Regions from separate parts of the Homo sapiens genome. Here all the other regions are linked to region 4. The links are contacts of gene promoters, found by promoter capture Hi-C in blood cells and fetal thymus (Javierre and others, 2016). All regions are on one chromosome and are shown on one strand. Each heading gives the region's core, a stretch centred on a gene start or on the middle of the fragment in contact. The rest is flanking DNA. Distances are from core to core; before and after follow the strand shown. Region 1 overlaps SDCBP (syndecan binding protein). Region 2 holds the start of YTHDF3 (YTH N6-methyladenosine RNA binding protein F3). Region 3 holds the start of SDCBP (syndecan binding protein). Region 4 holds the start of CHD7 (chromodomain helicase DNA binding protein 7). Region 5 overlaps NSMAF (neutral sphingomyelinase activation associated factor). Region 6 has its middle 3.6 kb from the start of UBXN2B. Region 7 has its middle 8.9 kb from the start of NSMAF.

Region 1 (3,856 bases), core at 546-3,045, 2.1 Mb after region 4:
CAGCCTGTCCAAAAAAAAATCTTGGATTCCTTATATGAGCAAAAGAAGATAACAATATTTCTGTTCACAGAGAATGAACTCAAAGTATAAACCTACTTCCATCGTGAGGGATAGGAGCAGAAGCTTCTGACAAAATTGCTGGATTGGCAGGGTTTGCAGAAAAAGCAGTTTGAGCCTGAAAAAGAAAAGAAGAAAATTCTAACAATATGCTATACTTACTTTATATTCTTATATAATTTATAAGCTAAATCCAGTACTTCCAAAAAGAAACTAAAACAATGAAGATTTATGTAAGAAAGTTTAATTTCAAACACATCAGCAATACATTTTCCAAAGGAAATCTGCAAATCAAAACTATATTTGATATTCTAAATACTTTTAAGGCTATCACAAAAAAATTGTAGAAGTACCATTCTACATGTCTTATAACCAGCACTTCATAGTGCTGCCACAATAAATTAATATTTTCAAAGTGCATTCTAAAATGAATAAATTTTACATTTTCATTATTCTTTTACTAATTAGTCCAAGTAAAAATATTTTATTTGCATAAGAAAAAACCTTACCCATATTCATATAAAAGTCACATATCAGAAAAACACCTAAAAAATTAATACTAAGCATGTCCCACTGAAATCATCTTTATCTTCATTGCAGCAAGTATAGGAAGGGGTTTATGCTAAATACTTTTAAAATATCAGAAATTATGAAAATAGCACAGTTTATCACTGACATAAATCGATGATGACAAGGTAATGTAATTTGTAACTGTTAAACAAACTTGCCAAAATCACTCTGACACACTCTGACACTCTAGCATTTATCAATGCTACTCATGCTCAAGTATCCTCTTCTCAGGGCTGTCTTGATGGCCTACATCATATGAAGTATCTCACTGATGGAAATACTTTATCCTTTACAATTAGATCTGACTTTCTGAAATAGCTATATGTCATTAGAGACAAGTTTGGTAATAAGTTGTATGACCAATCTCTACCAACTTTTTACTTTATTGGAAATGTATCATTTTAAAAATGAAGTTCATAGTAGTATCTCAACCTAGCCCTAAAATCAATGTCAAGAGTATTCCCAAAGATGCTTGGAGATATGAAAGCTTAGTTTAAATAAGTAAAGCCTATGAAAGCTTTGAATGGTACTAAAATTATATGTTCTGATATACTTGTTGAGTCATCCTTTAATATTTATTATTTCATAATTTGTTAAACATTCTAGATTTAAACAAAATACAGCATGAAAATCTTTATAATTATAAATAACAATCCACAAATTGAACATGTGTTGAACTTTGAAAGTTCTTTCACCACCGATTAGCTAAAAGGAGCTAGTGGCTTGTTATATTACTTCTTGAATCATGTCTAACAAAAAAAATACTGTGCGGCACTGGGAAAAAAAAAAGAACTATAAAGACATGAAAAGACATGGAGGAAACTTAAGTGGATATTACTAAGTGAAAGAAGCCAATCTCAAAAGGCTACATACTTTATGATTCCAACTATACGACATTTTGAAAAATGCAAAATTGTGGAGATAATAAAATATTAGGCCAGGCACAGTGGCTGAGGCCTTTAATCCCAGCACTTTGGGAAGCTGAAGCTGGAGAGTTGCTTGAGGCCTGGAGTTCAAGACCAGCCTGGGCAACATAGGAAAACCCTGCCTATGCAAAAAATTGTTTTGGCCAGGCACAGTGGCTCATGCCTGTAATCCCAGCACTTTGGTAGGCTGAGGTGGGCAGATCACCTGAAGTCAGGAGTTCAACTGACCAACATGGCATGTTGTCATGTTTGTCATGGCCAACATGGCAAAACCCTGTCTCTAGTAAACATACAAAAATTAGCCGGGCATGGTGGTGGATGCCTGTTAATTCCAGCTACCCGGGAGGCTGAGGCAGGGAGAATTGCTTGAACCCAGGAGGAGGAGGTTGCAGTGAGCCAAGATCGCACCACTGCACTCCAGCCTGGTGACAGAGCCAGACTCCGTTTTGGGGGAAAAAAAAATTTTCTTTTTAAACTAGCTAGGTGTGGTGGTGCATGCCTGTAGTCCCAGCTACTTAGAAGGCTGTGGCAGGAGGATGGACGCTGCAGTGAACCATGACTGTGCCACTGTACTCCAGCCTGGGCAACAGAGCGACATCCTGACGCTAAAGAAAACACAAAAGCAAAAGCAAATTATTGGTTGCCAGGAGTTTCTAGAAGGGAAGGAAGAACAGGCATTAAAGAATTTTTCGAGCAGTGAACCTATTCTGTCTAATGCTACAATGGTATACAGTCATGTGCTGCCTGTTCTGGTCAATGATGAACCACATATACAATAGTGGTCCCATGAGATTATAAAAGAGCTAAAAAATTCCTACTGTCTAGTGACATCATAGCTGCCGTCACACAGAACAACTCATTACTTTGTGGTGATGGTGGTGTAAATAAGCTTACTGCACTGCCAGTCATATATAAAAAAGTATAGCATCTACAATTATGCATGGTACATAATACTTGATAATAATAAATGACTATGTTACTCATTTATGTATTTCCTGTGTTATACCCTTTAGAGTATATCCTTCTACTTACAAAAAAAGTTAACTGTAAAACAGTCTCAGGCAGGTCCTTCAGGAGGTATTCCAGAAGGCACTATTACCATTGGAAATGACAACTCCATGCATGTTACTGCCTCTGAAGACCTTTCAGTGGGATGATGTGGAGGTGGAAGACAGTGATATTGATGATCCTGACCCTGTGCAGGCCTAGGCTAATGTGAGTGTGTGTCTCAGTTTTTAACAAACTTACAAGCGATTTTTAAAAACTAAAAATTTAAAAAATAGGAAAAAAGCTTATAGAATCAGGATATAAAGAAAGAAAATATTTTATACAGCTGTACAATGTTTGTGTTTTAAACTATGTTATTACAAGAGTCAGAAAGTTAAAAAATTAAAGTTACAGGAAGCTAAGGTTAATTTATAATTCGAGAAAGAAAAATTTTTAAATAAATTTAGTGCAGCCCAAGTATAGAGTATTGATAAAGTCTACAGCAGTATACAATAATGTCCTAGGCCTCACATTCACTCACCGCTCACTCACTGACTTACCCAGCGCAACTTCTAGTCCTGGAAGCTCCATTCATGGTAAGTGCCTTATACAGATGTACCATTTTAAATCTTTTACATTGTATTTTTACCATACCTTTTCTGTGTTTAGATACACAAATACTATTGTGTAACAATTGCCTACAGTATTCAGTACAGTAACATGCAGTATTACTGTATCATACAGGTGGGATCATACAGGTTTGTAGCATAGGAACAACAGACTATACCATACTGCCTAGATGTGTAGTAGGCTATGCCATCTACATTTGTGGAAGTACACTCTATAATGTTTGCACGACAAAACTGTCTAATGAGGCATTTCTCAGAACATATCCGTCTTTAAGCAACACATGACTATATACACGTCACTATACATTTGTCAAAATCCACAGAACATATAACACCAACAGTGAACCCTAATGTGATGTAATGTAAATATGTAGACTTCAGGTGATATTAATGAGCCAGATGTACTGCTCTGGTGCAGATGCTGATACTGGGGGAGGTTGTGCATGTGTGAGGACAGAAGGTATACTGTACTTTCTGATCAATTTTGTTGTGAATCTAAAATTGCTCTAAAACACAGCTTATTAATTTAAAATACTTCTCCTTTGTATGTAGTTATGAATTTCTGTTCTTTCATTGCTATTGTTTTTAATCCAAGGAATACTGAAGAATACATATAGAAAGCTCCCTGCAAAGTTAAATTTAATTATGTTATTTGCAGTAAAAATGAAACAAAAGGATGTAACCCAA
Region 2 (3,624 bases), core at 542-3,041, 2.5 Mb before region 4:
AGAACTCAGGACTCCAAGGAATCCCAATCCATTATTCTAACCTTAGATGAAATTATTAAACTGAACAACAAGGGGGAAAGAAAGAAAATTTCTTGAGAATAAAGAACTATCAAAATAAACACTTTGTGTATGTGTCTGAATACAACTAACAGAAGCGATACTGATGGATAAAAATTTTTGAAATAACCAAAAAATACTTATTTGCAAACAGTGGATGTATTATGCAGTTTATAGATAACTCAACTCATATCTAATATCAAAGATGCCACCAGTGCCTACCTAAGTGAAATGACCACTCATAAATCAAACTTATTTTACTGACTTACAGTGCTGTAGAGGCTCTATTTTGTTTTAACAAACAAGTACCTCATAGAACTTGTGTACTTACCTTAAAGCGGGTAACATAAAACACTTAGCATTTCAAATAGCTTTGCAAAGTGCCACCTCCCCACAGATCTAGGATAAAATAATTTATGCTAGGCAATAATGACCACAATTTCACAATCTCCAAGTCTACATAGTTCCTAATGGGTAGACTAGCAAAAGAAGAAATTAATGGATCATTCTTTTTAAAATTCACAAATTTTTAAAAACTCATTTAAAATAAATCAATATCCAATTTTTATTTCAGGTTTATGCTTACAACAAAAAAAATTCTAGAAATGAAATTTTAAAAATTAAAATGTCTAAATATTTACATACTGCAAGAAAACATCTTTAATGAAAACAAACAAAATGTTACCTAATATGGTGCCATGTAACTGGTATGTACAAATTCCATAATTCAGAGGAAACTAATCTACATATCCAAAACCTATTAAATTCACCAAATTTGCAATAGCAAATAAATACCCTAACAAGAATTTAAAGGGCACCAAAGACAATCTATATCTAAAAGGCTATTATAGATCTTAATTTCTAACACTGTGTTACTGAAATCAACAGAAAGCATAATTTTAGTGTAATTTCAAGCACTACAAAATGTTATATATAATTTGCTCTGATGTTATTTAATTGGCACTATCCCAAGAAAGCAGTTATTGTTCTATACTTAACTAAATGTCACATGACTAATGTCATAATGTTTCAGTCAGCTGACTGCACTGTTCCATATTAATACAAAACACACTTTTTAAAAAAACACTTTACTTTCAATGGTACTTTTACTAAAGAGAAAATTATAAAATCCTGGAAAAAATGTCACAAACTATTTTCTTCTCAGCCCTTTATAAAATACCAGATAGAGTCACACCTTGCAATCAGAACAATAGAGCAAGATGGCATGCCTACTCAGTTCTAACCTCTCTCATGTTGTTGCCTCATTACAACTGACTTCAATAGAATCAGTGATTAACAGTACAATTTTCATTAATGTGATGGAATACTATGTAGACTTCCATTTTCCAGTGTAATCCAGACATGTCAAACAAAATGTCCACTTTAAGAATATACTTGTCTATATACACATGTAGAAATTTTTTGTGGCATAAGTTACATAACACAGAAAAACTGGAAAACCAAAGAAATACCACCAGGTTCACACCAATACCTGCTTAACTGACAAGGAAACTGTTTCTCGTACTACTTTGGTTTCTATAAAGTGGCTTCAAAGCAACGAACTACCGAAGTTCTGGATAGAACTTGGCTACCTTAGCCATGATGAATATTTTCCCTAATCCTACATTTTTTCCCAAGAGGGAGCAAAAACAAACAAAATACCCTCACAGAGTTTAAAAGTAACATTAAGGCAACATTGAGCAATAAGAAAAAAAAAAATCCAAACTCACCTTTATTTCCTTGCCCTTTAGGTCTCTGTGTTGCAAGACGAAAGATGCGGTAAAGAGGAGAAAAAGGAAGAAAAGAAAAAGTGTGTTAATCAAAGGCATTATCAAAGACAAGTTATTTTAGACTATCCGCGTAGGAGTAAAAACCCACCATATCCTCCACAGCCACCAATTTCCCAACCACCCCCAGCCTTTAAACCTCCCACCCGCCACTCGGAATCCGTCTCCCAGAGCTCGCCCGGTCTCCGCCCCATGTCTGCCGCCCTCAGGATCTGTCCTAAGGCCCCTAAGACCGGTCCTTGCCCCCACCCGCCGCGGCACCGCGCCCGCCCGCCCGCAAGCTACGGGGCCAGGGCGCACGCCCCGGCCCGGGTAGCTACACCGCAGCAACTTGCGCCCGGGGCACCGTTATGGGGCCGGCAGCGGCGGCGACGGGGAGGAGCCGAAGCCCCGCGCGAGGGTGGAGCTCCGGGGCTCGGGCCTTCGCCAAGCCTGGGGCCTCTGCTCCCTCACCTGATCCACGCTAGTGGCTGACATTCTTCACCGCAACCCGAGAGCCGCCGCCGCCGCCGCTGCCTGGGCCTCTCCCCGTGCACTCACAGCAGTTGGCTGTCGCCCTTGGCCGAGTGATTGTTCCAGCCGCCGCCGCTGCCGCCGTTCGCTGAGAACCCAAAATGAGGGCCTCGCGCTCGGGAGTCGGAGGAAGAGGCCCGTCTTTTCCGCTTGCACGCTCCTCTTCCCCCTCTCGCTCTCTGCTTCTCGGGTCCACAATGGCGGACAGACTCCCTAGTCTCACTTCCGCTCCGAGCCTCCCTGACCTTCCGCTCTCCACTCTGACGTCCGCGCTCACCTCGCTCTTCCTCCCCCACCCTCCCGCCGCTGATCTTGGCTCCGCCTCCTCACCGCCACGTCACCGGAGACCGGACCCGCGCTCACGGCCGGTGGGCGCATGCGTCATGGAGGGAGCGCGTCGGGGCGTCAGCGAGCGCCAACTTTCAGCGTCTTTTCTGCGGCTTCCTTCTATCCCGCTCCGAGGCTGCAGGGCCCTGGCAGAGTGGCGTCAGCTGGAAGGCTGGCCAGAGCCGGATTTTGTTGCACTCCGGGCAGGAAGATGGCCGAGGCGGCGGCTGACGGAGATAGTAGTGCCTTGCTGAAGTCACGGCGGCCGGCGGCGCCCTCCTGGAGGCTGACGGGACGGAGGCAGGGAACTTCCCGGTGAGCCAGCCGGGCCTAGCAGGAGCCTTCGGCGGCTGCCCAAAGCCGTGGGGACGGCTGGCTGACTCAGCCGCTCTCTGGACGGAGTTGCTGGGTCCCCACAAGCCTGCCCGTGCAGCTGAAGTGGCAGGTTAGAGTTGTGGTACTCAAACTTAAGTCCAAGCAAACAGGAGGAGCACCGGCGCGGGTTCAGTCTTTCCAAACCCAGTTCAGCCGTAATCTCTGGAGTCAGACTTCGCCGCCCAATTCATGGATTTGTGCTTTTGACTCCGCTCTGATGTTTTTGAATGAATAAAGTTGCCTAGGATACTTAAGTATAGTTGCAGAGCGTCTTTTCGGCCCTGAAAAGAGGGAAAGTTTCCATTGAAAAAGTTCTTTATCACATATTGGCAAACCCAAAGTATGCCAATTTGCAACGTGTTGACATTTTCATTGAAATATCTACAATAAAGGCAAAGATTCCTTGTCTCAGTGATACAGAGTCCATGGAAGGAAATAATTTAAATGACCAAATACTTTCTGTACTTCAAAAACCATCAAATAAGTGATCATTTAGAAAGTAAAATTGTAGAATCATAAGATTAATTTTGTGGTTTACAGTGCAACAGTATCTTAGAAGCACTGA
Region 3 (3,618 bases), core at 719-3,218, 2.1 Mb after region 4:
AAAAATATATGTGCACAAAGGAAGCAACATATGTAAAAGTTGATTCACTGCAGCACTGAGTGTAACAGCAAAAGACTTGAAAGCTATATATGCTGATATTAGAAAAGCTCCAAAATATGATCACTAACTGGAAAAATAAGAGCAAAATGTGAAGCAGTATATAAAATGTTAACGTTTGTGTTAAAAGCAAGGAGGCAAATACAGCTTATATGTTTGCCTGTGTAGATATAAAATTTGCCTAGAATACCTAAGAAATGTAAAAAAGTTGCCTGCCTGCCAGAAGACTTGTTACTTTATACCTTTTTATGCTGCTTAAATTTTGAGACAAGTGACTGTTTACCTACTCAAAAACAATACATTTACAAAACATGTTGGCAGCACTTGAAAAGAAATTAATAAATGCTAACGTAACTATTGCTAAAAGTAGAAAGTATTTCAAAGTTATTTGGGGGCGCTTTTCTTTTTTAGAATCTCTTGGCATTTAATACCTATAAAAAGTTCCCAAATCTGGCAAAAACAGGGAAAATAGTTGTCACGCTCATTTTAAGAAACTCTTTAATTAAACAGTACATTTAACCGGCAACCATTAGCAAATTCTTCCCCTTTTGTTCATCTTTTTCCCCTTTTTACATCTTTTCCTATAATGCCCAAAACTAAAAGTTAATGTCTCCAAAGTTAAATTTAATTTATAATGGAGTGACTATTTACTGACCATTTTAAAAGTCATTCTACTTCTTTTTATTCTGTGCCACAAACCACTAGATTTATAATATTTATGTACCATTTAAGGCACAAATTTTATAGAATTAAGTTGGTAACACAGAAGACAAAAGGACGTATTTTCTACCGTTATCCCTCAATCTTAAACAGGAAAATAAAAAGACTGAACAAATTTGAGTTTTAACTAATCACATACACATTTAGAAATCAATTTAATTTAAAAGGCCCGCAGTTGTTTTTCAAGGTAAATTTCCTGCTTTAATCAACGATTTCTTTTTGAAACAAGCGGATGTTAAGAGTTTGGTAAGCCGAGCGTACTTTCTAAGCAATGTACGTAATGGAAAAGATAACAGTAAATGTGTATGTGGTTATACAGACTAGATAATCTACAAACTCCTTTCAAAAATGGACACATTAGAAGACTCCATGACTCAATAATCACCACTTTGGTAAAAGTGAAAACTTTCCACATCCATATGCCTTCCCTTTCCCATTATTACAAGGAAATCCTGAAAGGAAGGCTCTGAGTCATCATATCTCAGGGGTCAGATCTCAGGGGTATTTCCTTCTAAACACACCCTACTGGAAACGTTTCTCCCTCAGGTCCAACTTCTCCAGGAAAAAGCTCAAAGCGAACAACCTCTCCCCACCCCCTTCCAAAAAAGTCAAGGCTTCGCCCAATAAACAAACACTTCCTTCCTCCTTTCAAATCCAGGACTTTCCGAATAACCCAAAAGAAGGGCGATTAAGCACAGCCCTAGAAACGCCGAGCACTGGGAGGAACCGTGGCCAGAGGCTCTTTCTTATGTCGAGATCTTATCGAGGAGAAAACAAGGATCGAGAGACGGTCCCAGGAAGAACCCCAGAGCTGGGGCGGGGGCTGAAGGCGTTCACCCAGCCGGGCCTCCGGGCTCTGCCAGCCCCAGCCCCAGCCCCAGCCCCAGCCCCAGCCCGGGCAGGAACCCGAAACGCGCGGGGTCGCGGCAGGAAGAGCGCGCTGCTCCCGCAAACTTGCCCCCCCAGCCAGCAGGGCGCAGGGAGGGGCGCGGAGCCCCCTGAGGAGAGGGCGTCGCCGCTGCCTCGCGAAAACGGCTGCGACCAGGATGCAGTCTGTGAAGTGGCCCAGGGACCGTCACACCTCTGCCCCAAGTCCCCGCGCCCGGGACCTGGCACCGGCGTCCCTCCTTGCCCCCTTGGCCTCTCACCTAGCCCACAAGGAACCGCTCGCCGCCGCCGCCTCCGGTCACTGGCACGGACTTCTGAGGCCCGAGTGTAAGAGAGCGGTGCGCGCCCGAGGACCGCCCCCGAGGCGCGTCATGGCACCGCCCCCGCCTTCAGCCCGCGCAGTCGCACGGCGCCGGGTCGGGTGATCCCGTCCCCAAGGTAACGGGGCGGTAGGGGTAAAGAGGCCTGGGTGTGGGTCGTTCCTGCAGCTCCAGGTATCCGGCAAAGTGGGGCGGTTCATGCCGCCCGCTGTCCGCTGCCCGCTGCCCAGCGGTTATGCTCCCAGTCTTCTCCGCTCTTCGGCTGTTCGTGCCCGCGGGCCCCGTGCCACCCACTCACTACTGTGTGCATCGCAGCTCACGGTCGCTTGGTTCTCGTCGCCTCCAATTCAAAGAGGTCTCGGGAGCCCCTGTTCCCTCTTGGGATGCCTTCGACTTCCACCACTTGCTGCCCTAGTCTCACTCTCCGCTTGCTGTACCTCTCCACTATAGGCTCAGAAACGTTCCTCTCACGACCCCTTCTCAACTCCTGCTTTATTTTTCTGTTGGAAATTTGGATGTTGGGGGTGGGGGGCGTATTACTCTGTCCGCCTAAGCTAATATTCCTTCGCTATTGAGAGTTAGGTGTGGTGCTGCGCAAAAGTAATTGCTTCCCAGTAAAAAAACATAACGATCATTTCTTGAGGGCTGATTTTGTGCCAGCCATAGCTCTACGAACTTAATGTATAGTCTTATTTGGTCTTCACATCAGTCTATAAAGACATCCCATTACAGACAAAGAAACTGAGGCACAGTTTACCCAAGAGTAATCATAGTTACCACGGAATACTGTAGAGTCCTTGACAAAATAGCATTTACAAGCAGTTTATTTCTAGCTAAATTAGTGCCAGAATAATTTAATATATGGCAAAACTAATAAAAATCTGAGTGTAAAAGAGGTGACAACTAAAGATGAAAACTTTGCTCTCAGTAAGGTTATAGTTAGGCTGATGAAATGGACATTTAAAAATAATTACAAGGTAGATTGGGAAGGAAGAAATAAAACTTTTTGCTTTCAGATGAGATGGTTATCTAACATAGAAAATCCGGAAAAAATTGACACTCCTCGCCTAAAAAAACAGAATGAAAAGCAATTATAGCAAGTTTGCATGAGCAAGTTTAAAACAGGCTCATTCTAAGCCAAAATGCTTGGGACCAGAAATGTTTCCAATTTTGGATTTTTTTTTTTTTTGCTTTTGTAATATTTGCATTATATACTTATGGGTTTACCATCCCTACTCCAAAACTCAAAATGTTCCAGTGAACATTTCCCTTGGTCCTCATGTCAGCACTCAAAAAGTTTCATATTTTAGAGTAGTTCATATTTTGGATTTCTGTACTAGGAATAGTCGACCTGCATACATGGTCTGTTGTTTTCTTATATACCATCAATAAACAATTGGTATTTGAAATTAAAAACAATAACCACTGACATTAGCACCAAAATAAAATGAAATATTTAGGTATAAATCTAACAAAATATGTAAAAGGTTTATACAAGAAAAACTACAAAATTCTAAATAAAAAAAACTTCCAATGAGAAAAACTACAAAGTTCAAAGGAGATCTAAATAAATTTAAAGATATTCCATTTTCATGGATAGGAGTACTTGATATTTAACTGTCAGTTCTGCCCA
Region 4 (3,287 bases), core at 216-2,715:
CCAAGCCGCGGCTCTCTGCGAGGGCAGAGCGCACCCGGGTCACCTCGGGGGCCACCTGGTGACCACCCCCCACCGGCGCTGACCCCCGGCGGGTTGGGGGGCGGGGGAGCCGAGTTGCGTTGGAAGGTTAAAGTCGCTATTATGCAGCTGCCGCCGCCGGCGGCCCGGCCAGCTCGACAAGGTGGGGTCCCCTCCTCGCCGCGCCTCCCGGCGCTCGCCCCGGCCCCGCTCCCTTTCTTCTCCTCCTAGCGCACTTGGGAGCCGCCGGGGAGCCCCAGGAGCCCCCAACTCCGGGCTCGCAACTCCGCGCCCGCGACCGGCACTGGCTGAGCTCGGGACGCCTCCCGCGCCGCGTGTTCGCGCTGCCCCCGCCCCACGCGGCGCCCCGCGCACTTTCCCCGCCGCCGACCCACCTCGCTCGGTGGCGGTCCCCGCGCGGGCTGGCGCCGCCGCGCCGGGAGGAACGCACTTTGTTCGCGCCGGTGCGGCCGCAGCTCCCGGCGAGCGCGGCGTGGTCGGTCCGGAGCGGGGGGCGGGGGCGGGAGGCGGGGGTCGCCGCCGTCCCCGAGCCGCCGCCGCCGCTGCTCAGCCGCCCCGCGCCCGCGCGCCCATCGCCCGCTCGCACTTGAGTTGGAGCCCAACTTTTCCTCCTTCCTTTTTCTCTCGAATGGAGCCGGCAACTCGTGCTCGGCGCCGGCGGGAGGAAACGCGCTCGCGCTCCCCCGCGCGCAGACACGCTCCCTCCTGTCCCCCGTACCCCCCCCCCACGCCGGCAGCACAACAAAAAGCCATTTACATGCGAGGAAGTGACCCTCGGCCGCACCGCGCGCCCCCGCCGCCGCCGGCCCGGCGGACGCAGGCAAAAGTTGGGGCGCCGGGCGGCGCTCGGGGCGCGGGTTCGGGCCCCGCGGGCGGCGACGCCGGCGACACTACGCGGGCGGCGCTGCGCTCCTGCGCTGGCCCCGGCCCCCTCCCGCCCTCGCCCCTCGCCCCTCGCCCCGCACACGCCCAACTCCTCGCTCCCAACTCCTAGCGCGGCCCCGGCCCCGGCCCGGAGCGATTTCCTGCCGCCGCCGCCGCCGCCGCCCCTCCCGGGGGCGCCGGGCGAACTCTCGCGCTCACCGGGTCGGTCGGGCTCCTCCGCTGCCTAGTGCCGAGGGGAAAACAAAACGCAGAGCGGGCTCCGGAGTTGGCTCGGCAGCTGCGGCCAGGGGGCTGAATCCACGGGCACGGAGTTGGCCGGGGGCGAACGGGTCTCTGGTGAGTTTCAGGGTGTCCGGGTCCCCGGGCCGCCTCCTCCGCGGCGCTCCTTTGTGTAATTTCACTCGATTCAAGTTTAATCCGATAGTTCCCGAGCACGAGCGCGTCCGCACCACCACGACTCAACCCCCGCGCCGCCGCCGCCGCCGCCGCTGCCGCCGCCGCCGCCGCCGCCGCCGCGGCCCCAGCACGCCAGCGCCTGCGCGCGTCCGGCACGCCGCGCGCACCCGAAGCCGCGGGGCCGCGCGCGCCCGCCGCCAGCTCCCTCCGGGCCGCGCCGCGCCCGCGCCCGCGCCCGCGCGCCGCCACCTGACGTCAGGCGCGCCTGGCATAATTTATGCAAGAATTCGGCCGGGGTGGCGGAGGCCGAGGGAGAGGCCGAGAGAAAAGGGGCGGCGCGGAGCTGCTGGGCCGCGGGCCGCGGGCCGCAAGGGCGGGCCGGGCGCCACTTCCCGTCCCCTGGCGGGCGCCGGCGCTTCAGGCGGGTCTCCCCGCCGGCCGGTGCGCTGCTGCCGCGGAGTCTTCCTTGCCCGGCTGCACGGAGCGCTCGGCCGCTGCGCCCGGGCGCGGACTGGAGGGGCTGCTGCCACGTCTCCCGCGCGGCACCTTCCCGGAGCCGGGTGCGCCGCCCCGGGGCAGGAAGCGGGGCTCCGGGAGGGCTGCGACCCTCCTGGCTGCCGCGAAGGGTTTCCGACGCTGCGCGGCCGGCGGCGGCCGGGGGTGACTGGCAGTCTCTGCAGTAATTATCCTTCAACTTGAAATTATTTTCCCACATGAAATTATTCGGAAGGGACATGTTCCATTCCAGATGGGTTCGTGCCTGCTTCTCCACATCGCTTTTCCCACCTCTTCGTGGATAGGACACCGGATCCACTACTTAATCAAAAAGTTTAACTAGATGGCATTGATTTTGTCGAATTTGTTACCATACCAAAAAAGAGAGAGAAGGCAGAGAGCTCAATGATTATGAAACAAAGAAATAGGATGTATGCCCATTATTAAACGTGTCGGGACTAGAATGTTTTACTCATTCTTTGGCCAAAATGGCACTTGTATCTGATTGCATAGTCTTAAAAATCCGAGCCTCTTATTCCATTTCTCTTCCCGGTACAAAATGAATGTTAAACCTGAAGAAAAAAAACTTTTTTTTACTAATTTTTATTTTAGGAAATAGATCTACAAACATGGATTAAGCCTCTTCTATCTGCAAAATACGGAGCAATTATAATGTGTTTAAACCATCAATTGTAAACTTTAAGATAATTTTATTAGGTTAAAGATTGCACTTATTTTAAAATCAGGAAAGGAACTCATATCAACCAAAGATTGCCCTATGGCAGGTACAGACTGACTGGTTATTACTGGACTCCAAAATAAACTGAGAAAATAGCAAAACTATGTAAAATGTACTAATCTCACTCACTGATGGTTACACTACCTGTAGTGCTAAGCCTGTAATCACAATATTGTTATTTGGACAAAAGATTAATCAAAACTATCTCATTAAGTAACTACTGCAACTATTCAATAAGTTTGATTATCCTAGACTTAATCACTAAGACATTGATTTTCTGATTTTAGTAATAATTCTATAAATATATCACATTATATTGTGGTTTGTTAAATGCACTGCTTTTAGCTTGCTTTCATCATGTATTTGAGTTTTGTTCTAAAAGAAATAAATGTTTTAATGTTTAAGGAGCTTACAGATCATCAAAAAGAACATAGAAGACAGTACAGAAAGAATTCTGGCATTTAAAAAGTTGAAACCACTAAAATCAACTTCCATCTGTTTTAAACCCGGTATCACAAACCAAGAATCACAACTCTGAGGTTAGGCTACTGTTTCCATTAAGTTTATATTTCCCAATGAAAGTATATGAAAGGTGCTTTAGGGGTGTGTGGGGCGGGGGGGTCAAAAACAGGACACAATGTCTAGAAAAAAAATCGCTAGTACCTGACTATATTAGAACACATTTTTAAAATAATGTGCCATAAAAAATTATGTCTTATCTTTTACAGTGTGC
Region 5 (3,615 bases), core at 101-2,600, 2.0 Mb after region 4:
AGTCTCATCTTACACCTATCTCTTTCCACCTATGAGCCTGTAAAATCAAAACAGTTGATCTACTTTCAAGATACAATGGTGGTACAGGCATTGGGTAAACATTCCCATTCAAAAGAGAGAAATCTGCCAAAAGAAAGGGGCAGTAGGCCTCACTGAAGTCTGAAACCCAGTAGGGCAGTCATTAAATCTTAAAACTCCACAATAATCTCCTATGACTCCTTGTCCCACACCCAGGGCCAGCAGTGTAAGAAGTGGGCTCCTAAGGCCTTAGGCAGCTCTGCCTCTGTGGCTTTGAAGGGTGCAGCCCACTTGGCTGCTTTCACAGGTTGGAGTTGAGTGCCAGCAACTTTTCCATGCTGAGGTTGCAAGTTGCTGATGGCTCTACCATTGTTGAGTCTAGAGGGCAGGTGGCCCCCTTCTCATAACTCCACTTGGTGGGGACTATATATGGGGACTCCAGCCCACTTTTCCCCTTCATACTACTGTCGTAGACGTTCTCTGTATGGGCCCCATCCTTGTAGCAGGCTTCTGCCCGGGATTCCAGGCCTTTTCACACATCCTCTGAAATCTAGGGGTAAGCTGCCAAGGCTCCTTCATGCTTGCATTCTGTGCACCTGCACACCTAACACCACATGGAAGCTTCCAAGGCTAATGTCTTGCACCCTTTGGAGCAGCAGCATGAGCTGTACTTGTGGGCCTTTGAGCCATGGCTGGAGGTGGAACAGTGGGTCTGCAGGAAGCAGTGTCCCTAGGCTGTATGGGGTAGTGGGAAGCTGGGCTTGGCCCCCTAAGCCCTTCTTTCCTCTCCTAGGCCCTCTGTGATGGGAGGGACATCCTGAAAACTTCTGAAATGACTTTGAGGCCTTCCCCATTGTTTTGGATATTAGCCCTTGGCAACCTTTTAGTCATGCTCATCTCTCTAGCATGCAATTATTCCATAGCTTACTCCATAGCCGGCTTGAATTCCTCTCCTGAAAATGCTTTTTCTTTCTCTACCACATGGCCGGGCTACAAATTTCCCAGAGTTTTATGTTCTGCTTTCCTTTTAAGTGTAAGTTCCAACTTTAAGTCATTTATTTGTTCCTGTATCTGATTGTTGGCTTTTAGAAGCAGCCAGACCAGTTCTGAAACCCTTTGCTGCTTAGAAATTTCTTCCGCCACATACCCTACCTAAGTCCTTACTCTTAAGTTCAACCTTCCACAGATCCCTAGAACATGGACACAAATGCAGCCAAGTTCTTTGCTAGTTTGTAACAAGGGCGACCTTTGTTTCAGTTCCCATTCATTTCCTCATTTCCATCTGAGACCGTGTCAGCCTGACCTTCACTGTCCATATTCCTATCTGTATTTTGGTCACAACCATTTAACCAGTCTCTGAGAAGTTTCAAACTTTCCCTTGTCTTCCTGGTCTCTTCTGAGTCCCCCAAACTCTTCCAGCTTCTGCCTGTTACCCTGTTCCAAAGCTGCTTCCATGTCTTTACGTATATCCATAATAAAATGCCCTACTCCCTGGTGCCAATTTTATGTCTTAGTCTGTTTTTGTTTTGCTATAAAGAAATTCCTGAGGCTGCGTAATTTACAATGGAAAGAGGCTTAGTTGGCTCATGGTTCTGCAGGCTGTACAGGAAGCAAGGCACCAGCATCTGCTTGGTTTCTGGTAAGCCTCAGGGAGCTTTTACTATGGCAGAAAGTGAGTGGGAGCAGGTGTATCCCATGGCAAGAGACAGAGCAAGAGAGAGAAAGGGAAGTTCCCAGACCCTTTTAAACAACCAGAGCTTGAGTGAACAGATTGTGAACTCATTTATCACCAAGGGGATGGTGCTGAGTCATGAGGGATCTACCCCCATGATCCAATCACCTCCTACCGGGCCTCCACCTTCAACGTTGGGAATCACATTTCAACATGACATATGGAGAGGACAGAACATCCAAACTATATCACTGTCCAGTGTATTACTGGGGGGATGTTTCCAATGGTGGGTAGTAGGACTGCGATCTTGCCTTGTCTATAACAGTTTTCTTAATTTCTTCTTTATTTCAGAAATCATTTTCAGAAGCTTCTTAAAAATGGTCCGTTTAATTAAATCAACTCTCTAGTAGGGGCACTGTAGTCTAGCTTCATTCAAGGCTGGTGTTGGGGTATTGAGAGTAGAGGTGGCAAATACACAGCACTCCTGTGCTTTCCTTTGCCTCTGCACACATCACGAAAGTGTCATGGCATCACAGCACTTCCTCCCAATAAGTTTGGGTTACACTTCTTATCACAGTGAAGCCTGTTAGAGAAAGCATTGACTAACAAAACCTTCTGGATCCACTGTAAATACTGTTCATCAGCTGAGTGTTGAATAATTGTTGAGTGGAATGCAAGGTTACTCCAGCTATTTTAAGTTCTAGTTAAGTGTTGTACAGTAGGCTTTAAAATTTAGGTGATGTAAGAATAGGAAAACATCTTTTTAGGAATGTTGAGTTGCTCAATGAGGAAACTTCTCTAAAGAGAATGAAACCACACCTCTGTAAAGGAGGATTAAACTAGGAATATGTAGGGGCAGGGCTAAGAGTCTTCTAAAGAAATAATTTACAGTCAGATACAATACCAAAGGATGAGACCATCCAATTACAAAACGGTGATTTTAATTTTTTTTTTTAAGCATGGACTCTTTTACTCCGTAAAATGTAGTTTGAAAATCATTGTTCTAAAAATCATGCAACTTAATTATAATAATTTTTACATAGAAAAATTTTAAAGCGGGTATAACAACACTTTAGTAAAAAGAAAACATAGACTCAGAAAAGTTTCATAATCCTTTACTTCAAACAATATGATTTGGTTATATCCCTTCACTGTGTGTTTTACATTTCTTGCAAAATATGCATATTGATAAATTAAGGAGGCTATAATTAATTCACTTACCAAAATGACTTTAGTTCTAAAATAGCTGATATGATTATATTTTAATAATTATATGGAAGAATTGTCTCTGAAGGCTACTTGTGCATCATAGAAATAAAATTATGCCATTGTCTTATTGAAGAATACTTACTCTATTCTTCCCTCTCTATAAGAGAAGGAGTGAGGCGATTAGGAAAGAGAAGGAAGGATGTGTAACTCCAATTCTGTCTTGTGACTATATTGAAATTCAGATTAAGTATTGATAGTGTGCATTTTGTTTTGCACTCTGGCAGTTTACCCTGTAATTGATTCTTGTTCATGGATTTAGATATGGAGGACAGGTCAATAAAAGTTACAGATTAGGATGGTAAAATTGGTTTCTGCTATCATTTTTAATTTTTTGAGTTACTTTTCTTTTGGTTCAGATGATGATGATGATGATGATGATGATTTTGAGACGGAGTCTCGCTCTTGTTGCCTAGGCTGGAGTGCAGTGGCGCGATCTTGGCTCACTGCAACCTCTACTTCCCAGGTTCAAGCAATTCTCCTGCCTCAGCCTCCCGAGTAGCTGGGATTATAGGCGCCCGCCACCACGCCTGGCTAATTTTTGTACTTTTAGTAGAGAGGTGGTTTCACCATGTTGACCAGGCTGGTCTCGAACTCCTGACCTCAGGCAAACCGCCCGCCTTGGCCTCCCGAAGTGCTGGGATTACAGGTGTGAGCCG
Region 6 (3,429 bases), core at 783-3,282, 2.3 Mb after region 4:
TCCTGAAAGCAGGAAAAGAAACTACCATGTGATAGATGCCCTCCCTATACCAAGAGGAAAGATACTCATCACCAGAGAAGGGGAGTTGAGGCCGAGAAACATCTGTACAGATATTGTTAAACTAACCAGTATCTTCCTAGATACTCTTCCACGATTGCCTCTCTTTGTTCAACCTAGTATATAAGCACTTAGGCCTAGCCACTTCTTCGGGTGTTTATTTTCCTGTGAGGACACCCACTTATACGTAAAGTTTTATTAAATAAAATTTGTATGCTTTTTCCCTGTTAATCTGTTTTGTGTCCGTTTAATTCTTGGACCCAGCTGGAGACTCTGAGAGAGTAAAGGAGAAAATTTTCTCCCCCAGCTGTGCATTCCCTGTGTAATTTCATTTATCCCTCTACCAGGTAGTTATGATTATCTTGTTATACCCGAGGAAACCAGATGATGAAGACTAACTTCACCCTGTAGTAAATGGCAGTGCCAAATACTAAACTGCACTTGTTTTCCTGATACTCTCTTAACATCAGATTCTGCCCTAGAAATCTCGGGCTCTTTAACAAGAAATGCCTCATAGAGCCAAAGACATTTTAGCTGAGTGTTGAAGGAAAGTACTTCCAGTAGAAGTATTAGACCAGAAAGAATCTTGGTAAAGGCAAAGATATTTACAAAGACACTGATATTTAAAATATTATATTCATGTCAGCAAATTGCTATATGGTTGCAACTTAGAAATGACAAAAGATGGTTATGGAATGGTGGGGAGGAGACAGATGTAGAATGGAGGCTTGAGACAGATTCTGAAGGATCTTGCCTTAGGTTGGGGATGGAATCCTCTGAGCCAGTGATTCTCTAACATTCTTGTACATTAGAATCACCTCTTCTCTCTCGTCTCCAGGTACTCAGATTTATTAATAATTGGTATAGAGTGGGAGTCAGGCATCATATTTCTTAAGATGTTCGCAAAGTGGATTTTGCTGCTGGCCATGACAGTATACCTGATGTTGGACTTGTCCTCCCACTCTTAACAACTAAAAACAACAGTTTTAAGGCATTGAGCAACAGGCAGTACAGGTCTGTGATATCTGAAAGAAGGAAAACGAACAAGGTGACTATATTTGCCCAGGCTCTTTATTTTTATTTATTTATTTTTTGAGATAGGGTTTCTCTCTGTTGTCCAGGCTGGAGTACAGTGGTGCAATCACGCCTCACTGCAGCCTCAATCTGTCTAGTTAGAGCAATCCTCCCACCTCAGCCTCCCGAGTAGCTGTTGCCTTGGCTTTCTGCATGGAACTCTCATACACTGCTAGTGGGTCCTAGAATGGTACAGCCACTTTGGAAAAGAGGTTGTCAGTTTCTTCTAATGTTAAATATTCCATTATCATAAGAACCAGCAATTCTACTCTTAAATATTGACCCAAGAGGGATATAAGTATACATTTATAAAGTATTTCAACTCAAATGTTCATAGAAGCTTTATCTGTAATAGCCTGTAAACTGGAAACAATCCAAATGTCCATCAGCCAATGAATGGATACAATTTTGATAAATCATACAATGGAATACTACTCAATAGTAAAAAGGAAGAAGTTATGGATTCACATGTCTTGAATGAATCTCAAAGATATTATCTTGGGTAAAAAAAGCCAGGTGCGAAAGAGTAAATATTGTCTGATTTAATTTATATGAAATTTTAGAACAGGCAACACCTTTAATGACTAAAAGCTGGTGGTAGCTTGGGGCTGTCTTTTGGAGTAAGGATTCAGTTCCCCAATTGTAGGACATGTAGGAACTTTTTGAGGTGACAGAAGTGTTTTATAACTTGATTGTGGTGGTAGTTACACAGGTATGTATTAATACGTTTGTTAAAAGCACACTGTATACACTTAAAATGCATGCATTTTATTATATGTAAATTATTCATTTATAAACTTGATTGAACAAAATCCTTGCTCAGCTGATTCTGTTGTGCAGCTATGTTTGAGAGACACTGCTCTAAGGCAACTGGGAGCCATTAAAGGATTTGTGATTTACAAAGATTACAGATGCATCAATGTGTATGATGAGTCAAAGTTAGGAAATAGATTATTACAACAATGGGAAGTAATTAGGACTCAATTTTTATCAGTGGCAGTGAGAACAGAAAGAAGCAATACTTGGTAGAAATATTAACGTCAGAACCGACAGGAGCTGGAGTCTTCAATGTGGAATACATGAAAAAAAGAGGAATAAAAAATGACATCTGGGGATTTGGCTAGGTGATTTGGCAAATGGTGCTACCCGTAAATTATTGAGTTGAAAGGGGGAAACAAATTTCAAAGGAAATAAACAAGTTTGTTATGGACATTTTGAGTTCAAAATGTATGTGGAACACTCTGGTGAAAATGCATCATGGAGCAATTGCAAATGTGGGTATAAAGATTAGAAGATTAGGCAAGAATTTTGGTTTGGACATACAGATTTGGGTGTTGACTGCATGTAAATGATAGAGTAGACAAGGCTTCGCAGGAGCAGTGTGAAATGTGAGAAGATTCGAGGATTAAGAACACTCACAAACACCAACATTGAAGAACTCAGTGGAAAAAGGAAAGCTTTCAATGTAGCCCTGAGTAATAGAGAGGTGAGAGGAACACAAGAGACTGGAAAAACTGGTGATGAGGCAGTTTCAACAGGCATACCAATGATGTCATTTACTACAGATAATCAAGAAAGATTAAGACTAAAAAGTATCCACTGGACTAAAGGAACAGGAGATGCTGTCCCAAAAGTTACTACCAATTTCATAGTTAGTGAGGAAAATCCATATTTTACTAGTTTCAGAGTGACAGATAGGATAGTGAAGGCTACATATTCAATGAACTTAATGTCAATGGTGTGCAGAAGTTGCCGTGCACTGGCTTATGAGAGCCTACTGTTAAATTTTTAGGAATTTTGCAAGGCAGTTGTTAAACAGGGATTATTAAAAATTAAATGATATAAATGTACAACTAAATTATACAAAAAACTCATGCAATAAATATTCAAATCTCTAATTTCCTAGTTATTTGAATACATTTTGCTATTATCTATGCTCCTGAGGGGATTTACATCTATTGGATCTATATGGTGGAGATGCTATTGCACACCTCTTCCCAATTCGCATTCAGTGACAACATGTTAGTAGCTTGAAATCTACCATGGTGTAAGTATTCCCACCTCAGAAATTGGTAAACGCCATAAATAAAAGTTCGATTTCTTGTTTTGTTGATTGCCCACTGGAGATTTAAGGATCTGTTGGAGAAAATGTTTACGAGGCAGATAAGACTTAAAAGTATGCTGTGCCTGCAGCTGTTATGCTGTGAATAGCAAAAGAAAAAAAATGTAAATTTTCCTCTAGTATTTGAAAATTACTAGCTGATTCCGGAAGAAGTTGCTCACGTTGTTGAGTTACTA
Region 7 (3,455 bases), core at 747-3,246, 2.0 Mb after region 4:
AGTGTGTAAAGGGCAGGGAACATCTGTGGCATGGAGATGCTGGACAAAGGGAGGACTCACATCCCCGGTGGGACAGAGCCAGACAGCAACAGAGAGCATGCAATTTCATCATGCTACTCAGAACACCTAGCAATTTAAAATGCATGAATTGTTTATTTCTGAAATTTTCCATTTAATATTTTTGGCCTGCTGTTGACTGCAGGTAACTGAAACTGCAGAAAGTGAAACTGTGAATAAGGGGCACTTCTATATTCTTTGGGAAATACGTAGGAGTATAAAGAAGAAAACATAATCTCTGTATTCAGAAATAACTGCTATAAACACTTGCTAAATTTTTAGTACACTTAAGATATGTTGAGATAATATAAAATATATCATTTCCAAATATTTCACAAATTCATTGTAGTCATTTCCCTAAGTAATTAAATCTTCTTTAGAAACAGGATTTTAAATGACCACATATTATTTTACTGAATAGATAACAATTTACTTAACCATTGACCTCTTAGTAGAAACTGGATTACTGTTGGTTGTTTGTTTTTGTTTTTTTAACCGAGACTAGGTAGCAGGTATCTAGAGGTTCCCTTGATTGTCTCTCTTAGTTCACATGACTTCCCCAAATCCAAGACTGATGAGGGAAATGAAACGTTCTGTTGCCCAGGCTGGAGTGCAGTGACACGATTTTGGCTTACTGCAACCTCTGCCTCCCAGGTTAAAGCAATTCTCCTGCCTCAACCTCCCAAGAAGCTGGGATTACGGGCACACACCAACACACCCAGCACATTTTTGTATTCTTAGTGGAGACAGGGTTTCATCATGTTGGCCAGGCTGGTTTCGAACTCTTGACCTAGTGATCTGACCCCCTCGGCCTCCCAAAGTGGTATGAATACAGGCATAAGCCACCGCGCCCAGCCCTACTGTTGGTTTTTAACTGATTAAACATAAAACTGGGACAGACACTGTGGCTCACGCCTGTAATCTCAGCACTTTGACAGGCCAAGGCAGGAGGATCACTTGAGCCCAGGAATCCAAGAGACCAGCCTGGGCAATGTAGAAAGACTCTGTCTGTACAAGTTTTTTTTGTTTTTTTTTTTTTTTTAGCTGGGTGTGGTGGTGCTTACCTGTACTCCCAGCTACCCAGAAGGCTGAGGTCAAAGAATTGCTTCAGCCCGGGAGGCAGAGGTTGCAATGAGTTGAGATCATGCCACTGCACTCTAGCCTGGGCAACAGAGAGAGACCTTGTGTCAAAAAACAAAAACAAAACAAAAACAAATTTTGTTGAATCCTGTGATATATTTAAATTGCCTTCCAGAAGAGCCAGTTCACCTGTATACATCTCTTCCCAGCTCTGCATTCAGTGATTTCACGTTGGTAACATGAAATTGGCCATAGTGGGGGTATTTTACACGACAGAAATTGGCAAACACTCCAAATCAGCCTGTTTTCTTCCAACTTGCTGGTTACTAAACATTTACCAGTTTACACTAGAGAAATTTACCAATTTTACTTCCATCAATAGTGTTTAAGCACTTCAGCACTGGACACGACCATTGACAGTACTGATATTTGTCACATCGATATCTGAAAATAGTATCTCATTTTGTTGTAATTTTCACTTACTTTTTATGAAGTTGACATTTCTGTATTTTAGGGCATACAATGTATGTATATCTTAAAATTATGGTTTTATTTATAATTTCCTGTTTATCTTCTAACCTAATCTATACTAATCTCCGATTAGCAACATGCAGAGTAAAAACATTGCTGGATTTATAAAGTACAAGGGAGAAGATCTTAAATGAGGGATGACTTCAGCAATTACCCTAATCTTTACCCAAGCAAGGAAGATAAACTGTGCAGGTGACAGATAACAGATGCCCTCTGGAAGCTGTATAGAACCCATGGAGGAAAAATTGATGCCAATATGGGCATATACAGCTCCTATTTAATTTTTTCCCACTGGACATAAAAAACAGAACCTCAGAAACAGTATTAACTGCATGGGAAAAATCATCTAAAAAAATCCTCTTAAAAAAATGTGAGGTCTTATTCCTCCATTAATTTCAACACTAACTCACATGCCCAGATAACTATGAAAGGGAGAAGAGGAGGCTTGCACCGGCATTGCCAAAATGAGAAAACATAAGTGATTACACGCAATGTCTGCTGTGACTTAAATGTCTCAAATCTCATTACTGCCCCAGGACCTGCTCCTACTCACACACGCATTTTCATTTGTCTTTCCACCCCTTTCTTACTTAACTCATGTACTTTGGGGAATGCTAACTTCTACCTCCAATTCTAGAGATGGCCCAGAGTCTCAGAGAATGTTTCATTTCCCTCATCAGTCTTGGATTTGGGGAAGTCATGTGAACTAATAGGGACAATCAAGGGAGTCTCTAGATACTTGCTAGCCAGCCTGGGCTGGATGAGGTCTCTCACCCTGAGGGAGAAAGTAGGCAGCTGGCCAAATACCAGAAGCTACCTATTACCAGCCATAGGGGAAGGGAACCAGACTTAGAAGGCAGCTAACTATGCGGAAGGCCTAACAGAAAGATGATGAAAAACTGTGTCTCTGATGAACTTATTGAGCCACTGGATTAACGAACATTGATGTATACGATACTTCGGATTTCCAGGTACCTGAGCTACAAATTCCTGTGATGGCTAATTTTGTGTGTCAACTTGACTGGTCCATGGGGTCAGATGTTTGGTTAAACATTATTGTGGGTATGTCTGTGGGGGAGGTTCCTTTTGAGTTGGTGGACTGAGTAAGGCATACAGCCCTCCCAATGTAGAGAGGCCTCAAACAATCTATTGGAGGCCTGAATAGGACACAAAAGTGGAGTAAGAGAGAATAATCTCTCTTTGCCTGACTGTCTTTGAGCTGGGGCATTGTTCTTCTGCCTCTGGGCTTGGGATGAGACTGGAGATTATACAACGGGCTCTCCTGGTTTTCAGGTTCTTGGGCTCAGACTTGGATATATACATTCCAGACTCCTATATATAAACTCCTATTAGTTCTGTTTCTCTGGAGAACCCAGACTCATACAATTCCCTTTGTTATTTAAGCAAAATGTGCAAGAGGAAAGAGCTGATCACAGTTCTATCTAAATTTTCCTGCTGTCCATGTAAGTTTTGAGCTTCTTTCAGGCTTGTAACGCAGTGGTCAAACTTTAAAATGTAAAACATATCATGTCATTTTCCTGCTCTTACCCCTCCAGTGGCCTGTGTCACACATTAATAAAAATAATAAGAAAAAATCCAGTGCTCACCTTTGTCCTGTGGTCTGGGCCCTGCTGCCTCTATCTCTCACCGTTAGTGTGCTCTAGACACTAAAGTGCTGGCTCAGGCTGTTGACCTTGCTATTCCTTCTACCTGGAATGCCTTTTCTCAGGATCTGCACATTCAAGTTTCTTAATTCATTTAGTTGTCAGCTGAAATATCAGTGATCA

What was found. Contacts are between HindIII fragments. The CHiCAGO score rates a contact against its expected background, and 5 or more counts as called.
Region 1: a contact is called between a fragment that was not itself captured here and the fragment with the promoter of CHD7 in region 4, in 2 of 17 cell types (non-activated CD4 T cells and naive CD8 T cells). The highest score is 7.9, in non-activated CD4 T cells.
Region 2: a fragment that was not itself captured here is called in contact with the fragment with the promoter of CHD7 in region 4 in 3 of 17 cell types (naive CD8 T cells, neutrophils and naive CD4 T cells); the score reaches 7.5 in naive CD8 T cells.
Region 3: the fragment with the promoter of SDCBP here is called in contact with the fragment with the promoter of CHD7 in region 4 in 1 of 17 cell types (non-activated CD4 T cells); the score reaches 6.0 in non-activated CD4 T cells.
Region 5: a fragment that was not itself captured here is called in contact with the fragment with the promoter of CHD7 in region 4 in 1 of 17 cell types (activated CD4 T cells); the score reaches 6.5 in activated CD4 T cells.
Region 6: a contact is called between a fragment that was not itself captured here and the fragment with the promoter of CHD7 in region 4, in 1 of 17 cell types (non-activated CD4 T cells). The highest score is 6.4, in non-activated CD4 T cells.
Region 7: a contact is called between a fragment that was not itself captured here and the fragment with the promoter of CHD7 in region 4, in 1 of 17 cell types (naive CD8 T cells). The highest score is 5.2, in naive CD8 T cells.

What each region holds. Positions count from the first base shown.
Region 1 is chr8:58,567,206-58,571,061 of GRCh38, reverse strand. SDCBP (syndecan binding protein) reads right to left here. Exons shown (of 9, transcript NM_005625.4): 3 at 97-175. Among named protein-coding and RNA genes, the nearest start is that of SDCBP, 16 kb to the right of the region's middle. The HindIII fragment of the contact is 1,298 bases long and covers 1,147-2,444 here.
Region 2 is chr8:63,167,575-63,171,198 of GRCh38, reverse strand. YTHDF3 (YTH N6-methyladenosine RNA binding protein F3) reads right to left here and starts at 2,578. Exons shown (of 5, transcript NM_152758.6): 1 at 2,298-2,578; 2 at 1,788-1,812. The coding sequence starts at 2,321. It overlaps YTHDF3-DT (YTHDF3 divergent transcript), which reads left to right and starts at 2,757. Exons shown (of 1, transcript NR_102684.1): 1 at 2,757-3,474. RefSeq lists a silencer at 1,976-2,215 and enhancers at 2,296-2,615, 2,816-3,035. The HindIII fragment of the contact is 4,463 bases long and covers 1-3,624 here.
Region 3 is chr8:58,551,611-58,555,228 of GRCh38, reverse strand. It overlaps SDCBP (syndecan binding protein), which reads right to left and starts at 1,968. Exons shown (of 9, transcript NM_005625.4): 1 at 1,926-1,968. RefSeq lists a silencer at 1,586-2,115 and enhancers at 1,592-2,309, 2,216-2,395. The HindIII fragment of the contact is 12,216 bases long and covers 1-3,618 here.
Region 4 is chr8:60,676,918-60,680,204 of GRCh38, reverse strand. CHD7 (chromodomain helicase DNA binding protein 7) reads right to left here and starts at 1,465. Exons shown (of 38, transcript NM_017780.4): 1 at 1,123-1,465. RefSeq lists silencers at 1-357, 1,018-1,117, 1,478-1,917. The HindIII fragment of the contact is 9,178 bases long and covers 1-3,287 here.
Region 5 is chr8:58,645,771-58,649,385 of GRCh38, reverse strand. All of the region lies in intron 1 of NSMAF (neutral sphingomyelinase activation associated factor), which reads left to right. Among named protein-coding and RNA genes, the nearest start is that of NSMAF, 12 kb to the left of the region's middle. RefSeq lists an enhancer at 3,382-3,615. The HindIII fragment of the contact is 1,418 bases long and covers 642-2,059 here.
Region 6 is chr8:58,406,076-58,409,504 of GRCh38, reverse strand. No RefSeq gene overlaps it. Among named protein-coding and RNA genes, the nearest start is that of UBXN2B, 3.6 kb to the left of the region's middle. The HindIII fragment of the contact is 1,117 bases long and covers 1,474-2,590 here.
Region 7 is chr8:58,667,005-58,670,459 of GRCh38, reverse strand. No RefSeq gene overlaps it. Among named protein-coding and RNA genes, the nearest start is that of NSMAF, 8.9 kb to the right of the region's middle. RefSeq lists an enhancer at 515-1,202. The HindIII fragment of the contact is 5,273 bases long and covers 1-3,455 here.